2 separate regions of the Homo sapiens genome follow, and region 2 is linked to region 1. Evidence: promoter capture Hi-C in human tissues and cell types (Jung and others, 2019). All regions are on one chromosome and are shown on one strand. The core of a region is centred on a gene start or on the middle of the fragment in contact, and the rest is flanking DNA. Distances in the headings are between cores, read along the strand shown.

Region 1 (3,456 bases), core at 479-2,978:
ATCTAAAAAAGAAAATTAATGCAAAAGAAGACAATTTGGGGGTCTTTTCAATAATTCAGTGGTAACACACAGTATATGGAGAGTTTGTGTATTGCTCCAATTCCCGAGTTTAAAAGGTTTAAGGTCTAGTTCCATATAGAAGTCCTGCAGTTCTAATAGACTGTGTTTTGATGAAATATCCTCAGTAAGTTAGTATGAGGTATGCACAACATTTCTGCTGAAATCCTTATCCTGCCTATCATTTTGCAGTGGACATCCATGGTTCAGTTTGCCTGGCAATCCTCCCTTCTCATAAGAACATCATCGCTCTTCTTTTAGGGAACTAACAGATCCTCCCCAAACTCCAATCAGGTGGTCCTAATCCAGGTTGCCAATCGCAGTGCTTCAATCACAGGAGTAAGCACAGGTCCTAGGCCAGGCCAATCACAGCTCCTTCTTGGATTTTCCAATTTGATAAAATCCAGGCTGGCTGGATAAAATCCAGAGGGAGAGTTTACTCCCACTCCTAGTGAGAGAACAGCTGCCAAATTTCTAGTCTTATGGAGCTGGTGTCTGACAAACTGAAGCTGCGATGCAGAAAAAAGCTGAGATGAGAGACGGGGACATCTTGGTGGTGGCCAGGTGGCTAGTGCCATATACATCCCTGCCCAACCTCATTTTGGTTAGGTGAGCACCAGTCATTCCCATTTATTCTTTTAACAACAGGAAGTATTTAATGAGCATCTACTATTATGAGCCAATCATTGAAGACACAGTGATGACTAAGCCTTCCAGTGAACACAAAATATATATTAATGTAAAAAGTACTGCAAGTTATGGACATTTGGAACCTAAGTAGGCAAACCATGACTTAAATCTCATTTAGGCTGGGCACAGTGGCTACACCTGTAATCCCAGCACTTTGGGAGGCTGAGGCGGGAGGGTCACTTCAGCCCAGGAGTTGAGACCAGCCTGGGCAACATGGTGAAACCCCCATCTCAAAAAAATACAAAAATTAACTGGTCTTGGTTTTGCAGCCTGTAGTCTCAGCTAATCGGGAGGCTGAGGCCAGAGGACAGCTAGAGCCCCGGAAGTCGAGGCAGCAGTGACTGCAGTAAGCTGAGAGCACACCACTGCACTCCAGCCTGGGCGACAGAGCGAGACACTGTTAAAAAAATTAAAAAAAAAAAAAAAAGAAAGAAAGAAAGAAAAGAAAAAAGAAAAAGGAAAAGAAAACTTATTTAATTCTCAACAAATCCTGTTAGGAAGCTCAGAGAGGGTCAGTAATTATTGCAAGTTTCTAGCGCTAATATATAGCGGAACCAAGACTTGAACATAGGTTTTCGACTCAACAATTGTTTTAATTACTCTGCGCTGCGTAAACTGAGAAACCTCTGAATCCTTACAATTTTAAAAGAACAACTTACAGTTTTCAGTTTCCATCAGATTCCAATTTTCTACCAAATTGCAGCCCTGAGGTATGAATGGTTACCAAACTTTAGTTAAACAAACAAAATTAGCTCATTAAGTAACAGAGAAACCACTCTGCCCAGCCTGCATTTTTTTTTTTTTTTTTGTATGAGTTTGCCTCCTTTATGCGCAAGGCTCCTTGGGAGTTGTAGTCTGAGGCATAGTCCTGTGGGTGGAGGCGCTGACTCACTGGGACCCAATCAGCAGAGAGTCAACTTGCTCTCCGCGCAGCGATTGGCTGGAAGTCAGCGGTCTCCCGCCCGCGGCGCCATCGCGCCATTCCTAGTTAAGGCGGCACAGGGCCGAGGCGTAGTGTGGGTGACTCCTCCGTTCCTTGGGTCCCGTCGTCTGTGATACTGCAGCGCAGCCATGGCAGAACCGCAGCCCCCGTCCGGCGGCCTCACGGACGAGGCCGCCCTCAGTTGCTGCTCCGACGCGGACCCCAGTACCAAGGTGGGCACAGGACCGAAGGGAACGGCTCCCCCAGCTCCGCTGGGCCGGGACCGGGCCGCATTCTATCCAACCCCATCCCGCCGCCGCTGCAGGTCCGCCGGCCTCGGGCGGACGGGAGTGTGATGGGAAGAGGGATAATGGTGTTTGATGGGGCGATCGTGGGGCCCGCGAAGTGTGGAGGGGATCTGTTGCCTCAGCTAGTTTCAAAGACTGCGACCCTGTTTTGAATTGGCTTGTTTATGTTGCGACGGTGGCTGGAAGCCAGGCCAACCCAGGGTCAGCTTTCCCAAATCAGTCGCCAAGGCCCACGAGAACAGTAGTTTCAGAACTCCCAGAAATAGGTTCAAAGATGCCTGTCCTGTACCAGTCCTGCCCAGCCTCGTTTTTCCTTACCACCCTGACTGCAGTCTTAACTCCTGCAAACTAATTTGATCGCTCTAAGTTTAACCGCGCCCAGAATTTCACTTTTGCTTGCTTGGCCTTTGCTGTGGGTCACAACAGCCCTTCTTGCCTTCCTCATCTTCGTGGGGCCCAGGAGAGATTACAGAATCATAGAGTTTGGATCTGAAAGGAATCTTAGAAATTCCTTCTCTTACCCTCTCGTTTTACAGTAATGACCCAGTAAGAGAAATGACCTGTTGCATACAAAGGCTTTCACTTACCGAACATGTCTTTACTGGGTAAGAATCAGTGTAACTCACTCAGGTGTGGTGTTTCGGTTGCCTTGTTAAGATCAGACACAGTTGGCGGGCGCGGTGGCTCACGCCTGTAATCCCAGCACTTTGGGAGGCCAAGGCGGGCGGATCACGAGGTCAAGAGGTAGAGACCATCCTAACACGGTGAAACCCCGTCTCTACTAAAAATACAAAAAAATGAGCTGGGCGTGGTGGCGGGTGCCTGTAGTCCCAGCTACTCGGGAGGCTGAGGCAGGAGAATGGCATGAACCCGGGAGGCGGAGCTTGCAGTGAGCTGAGATCGTGCCACTGCACTCCAGCCTGGGCGACAGAGTGAGACTCTGTCTAAAAAAAAAAAAAAAAAAAAATTCAGGCACAGTAACCGCTGTTTATTCCAGTGAAGTCATCAGTGTCTGTAAACACCTTTGTATTTATTTATTTGACTACATCATTTGTAAATTCCTTGAAGATTGAATATGTGCTTCGTGCAGACCTTTAAAAGGGGTAGATAAGTGGTCCATGACTCTGGTCCCTGCTTGTTCTTTACCTTCAGGGCAAAGAGTCAGACACATCTCATTGCTAAAACTTTTGACTAGCACCTGGTACTTGGCTTAGGAAAAATGTTAGTCATTGCAAAATTAAGGGGGAAGGTAAAAAAATTCCGTCATGCCCATCTCACTTGTATATCCCTTAATATTAATACCTGGTTTTTTCATATAATGTAAATTGAGTCACTCAGTGTAAAGTATTTTCCCAGATAACTAGGGGTTTTATGTAATGGGGTTTTCAAATAAAAAGGATTCCAGGGATATCTTTATAAAATATACTAAGTAAATGTCCTTGCAGCTTAATTTACATTCCACAGTATCTAAATTTCTCT
Region 2 (3,456 bases), core at 328-2,827, 1.3 Mb after region 1:
GGTTTATCTTTATTCCTGGATGGCATATTAAGAAAAATAAACTTAATTTCTATTACACAGTCAAACGCAAGTGTTACTTTCCCAGTTCTAGATATTATCACTGGAGCATATAAATTGCATTAGCTTTCATAGCAGATCTAGTACACTGCCAGTGTATCCTCGAACTTAGGAATGATTAAATTTCTTGGTCTCCCCCTCCTCCAAGAAATGCTATCCTAAGTCCTGTCTCTTCTGCTCTATACTTGACTGGATGGAAAACCTTGGATTCAAGCGCAGGACCTTAGATTGATTCCTATTAAATTTCATCTTGCTAGTTCAGCCTATCAAACCAATTTGTCAAGACCTTTCTGAATTTTTAATCTGCCATCAGATCAGACATACTTAATATCTCTTCCACCAAATTTATGAGATGATGCCTTCTATACCTTCGTTCAAGACACAGAATGGGATGCAGCCAAAGGCAAAGTTTTCAGGAAAACCTAGTAAACATTAACCCACACCATCTGGATATACCTTCAGCCAGTTATAATTCAACCAAAAGTCTTTGCATTGGAGTACATATTCTCTGTCTTATCCACAAGAACAGCTTGAGAGCTTCCGGAAAAGGTTGAAAAGAAGCCCCAGTTCACATCTATCATACTTTCCTGTTGGACCAGTCTAGTTCATAACAACCCTGTGAAGGAAGGAAATGAAATTCTTCTGAGTTCCAGATCACAGAATTCCCTTATTCTTTTTTGTTTGTTAATTTTTTTTTGTTTTTTTGAGAGAGTCTTGCTTTATCACCCAGGCTGGAGTGCAGTGGCACGATCTTAGCTCACTGCAACCTCTGCCTCCCGGGTTCAAGCAATTCTCCTGCCTCAGCTTCCACGTAGCTGGGATTACAGGCACGCACCACCACACCCAACTAATTTTTGTATTTTTAGTAGAGACGGGGTTTCACCATGTTGGTCAGGCTGGTCTCGAACTCCTGATCTCAAGTGATCTGCCTGCCTCAGCCTCCCACAGTGCTGGGATTACAGGTGTGAGCCACCGCGCCCGGCTCCCTGCATATTCTTCTTAGTGCACAAACGACCTCTTTAATGTCCCATATCACAACCTTAACTGGGAACTTTAAACCAAAGTTAGCTAAAACTGCCCTCTTCTCTTCTCTTTAAAATCTTTCAGAATGCCTGTCCTCCTCAGTCCCTCAAAGACCACCACGACTCACTGACCTAATCTATTCCTCCCCACAAACTCTTATCTCAGTATTCACAATACTATCCAACCAACTACTCAACCCATAACCCAGAAGCCATCTTTGATTCATCTCTGTCCCTCATCCCCACATTGAAATCACTGGTAAATTATATGGGCTATAATTCAAATATGTCCTAAGTCTGTTCATTCCTATCTCTGCAGCCACAGCCTTAGTCCAAACCACCTGGCCTCCTACTGTTTCTGTTCTCACTCTAGCCCCCATAAGCTTTATAATAGTAACTGGAATAGAAATGTAAAAATTTTAAATCAGGTCATTTTCCTTCTTTCCTTAAAACTGTCCAATCATTCAAACTTCCTTCCATGGCCTATAAGACCCTGAATGTCCTGAGCCCTTCTACTCTTTAGTCTTAACTCATACCATAGTGCCAACACTAGCTGCTCCAGCCCCTCAAACTTTTTTGTTGTTGTTGTTCCTTAAGCCCATCTCCCCGAAGTGCCAGCCTACCTGAGGGTCTTTTCACTTAGCCCCTCTGCTAAGAACACTCTTCTCTCAGATCTTGCACAGGCTCCTTATCTTTCATGTTCCAGCTACTCATAAGCCTACTCTGATTACCTCTGTCTAAAGTTGGTTGTCTGCTTCCCATCATATTTCTTCAGTTATTAGGAAGTACTTATCACAGACCAAAATTATCTTGTTTATTTTACTTTTCCCCTCTGTCCCCGTAATAGAATATAAATTAGATAAGCAGGGACTTTATCTGTCTTGTTTACCACTGTGTTTCTATACCTGGCATAGTGTTCAGTTAAGTATTTGAGAATGAATGAAAGAATAAAGAGGTCTTGCATATGAGTCCTCAAGATTTTAGGGTGGGTGTTTTTAGGTCAGAAGTTAGAGACTGTATTACCATTGGAAAATATGGAGCAGCAGTTGGAACTCATACAGTCTCACTTGTTTCTCTTTAAAATGTTGTGGTGATCACTCCACCAACACTGAGCACAAAGTTTTTCAGTTCTTTCACACTCTGCCAGAATTATATTAATTATAGAAGTTCCTCTGAATACACATATCTGTTAAAAATGGAATGGCTAGGGATTTATCTGTCGTCCATATTCAGTAAAATTTCTATTTAGGTAGCTTTATCTCTAAGAGAGGAAGCATCTCATATTACATGCTAATACTTGAGGGGAGACAGCCAGACTGCCATTGTGAGTAGCCAGGGGAAAACAGTACCAAAACAGTAGAAGAGTGCCTTTTCCTGACATTGCCTCCAACAGACTCTGAACCCAGAAAAAGGAATCATTCTTTTACATCCTTCCCTGCACTGCCTGGTCTTAGAATTTACCTTGGTACTACTGATATTTCACCTATACTGTAGTTAAAGAGTGCAGTGAGGTTACCTGGAAATCTCAGGACCACTCAACATAACACTGAATTTCCCGTGGGAACTGACTGACGACCCATATGTGAGGGGTTGTTTTCATTTACAATAGTTTTGCAAGCCTTTGAGCTTACACACATTATTGATCTAAAAGATCATCCTGTCTTTGCCCACCTTCACTAAGACTATCTCTTTCCTCCTGGGCACAATTCCTACTGTTTCTCAAATAACAAGTAAATCTGGCCAGGTGTGGTGGCTCACACCTGTAATTCCAGCACTTTGGGAAGCCCAGGCGGGCGGATCACATGAGGCCAGGAGTTCGAGACCAGCCTGGCCAACATGGCGAAACCCCACCTCTATTGAAAACACAAAAAGTAACTGGGCATAGTGGTGCATATCTGTAATCCCAGCTACTTCGGAGGCTGAGACAGAAGAACCACTTGAACCAGGGAGGTGAAGGTGTGATCACACCACTGCACTCCAGCCTGGGTGACAGAAGGAGTACTCTGTCTCAAAACAAAACACCCCACAAAAAAGCCCCCAAACCAGTAAATATAACCATCCTTTCCCTTTTTTCCCTTGGGGCAGAAAACTTAATGAAAACTAAATACAAGAGAAGAAAAGGGGAGAGAAGGTTCTGTTGTTTTCCCCAAAGGCCTAGATACTTTATAGTACCTGAGAACTAGCTAATTTGCAATAAATCTCTACTTGTTTTTCCACCAAACTCTATGCATTGCTTTAACAAGCTTAAAGCCACTTAATTAGACAATTTACTACAGTGTTCCCATCAATGAAATGAAAGGAACCCTGTTTTATTATTTTATCCACAACATCTGAGACTAAGAACTGGAAAGGCAGGGAACTGACCTACCTTTGCTGT

What was found. Contacts are between HindIII fragments. The study calls those that stand out against the background at their distance.
Region 2: a contact is called between a fragment that was not itself captured here and the fragment with the promoter of GLO1 in region 1, in 1 of the 25 tissues and cell types used here (dorsolateral prefrontal cortex).

The regions. Positions count from the first base shown.
Region 1 is chr6:38,701,417-38,704,872 of GRCh38, reverse strand. It overlaps GLO1 (glyoxalase I), which reads left to right and starts at 1,728. Exons shown (of 6, transcript NM_006708.3): 1 at 1,728-1,902. The coding sequence starts at 1,819. RefSeq lists enhancers at 1,452-1,611, 1,792-1,891, 1,912-1,961, 1,994-2,586. The HindIII fragment of the contact is 19,947 bases long and covers 1-3,456 here.
Region 2 is chr6:37,356,400-37,359,855 of GRCh38, reverse strand. The region is part of intron 1 of RNF8 (ring finger protein 8); the gene reads right to left. Among named protein-coding and RNA genes, the nearest start is that of RNF8, 4.1 kb to the right of the region's middle. The HindIII fragment of the contact is 4,796 bases long and covers 1-3,456 here.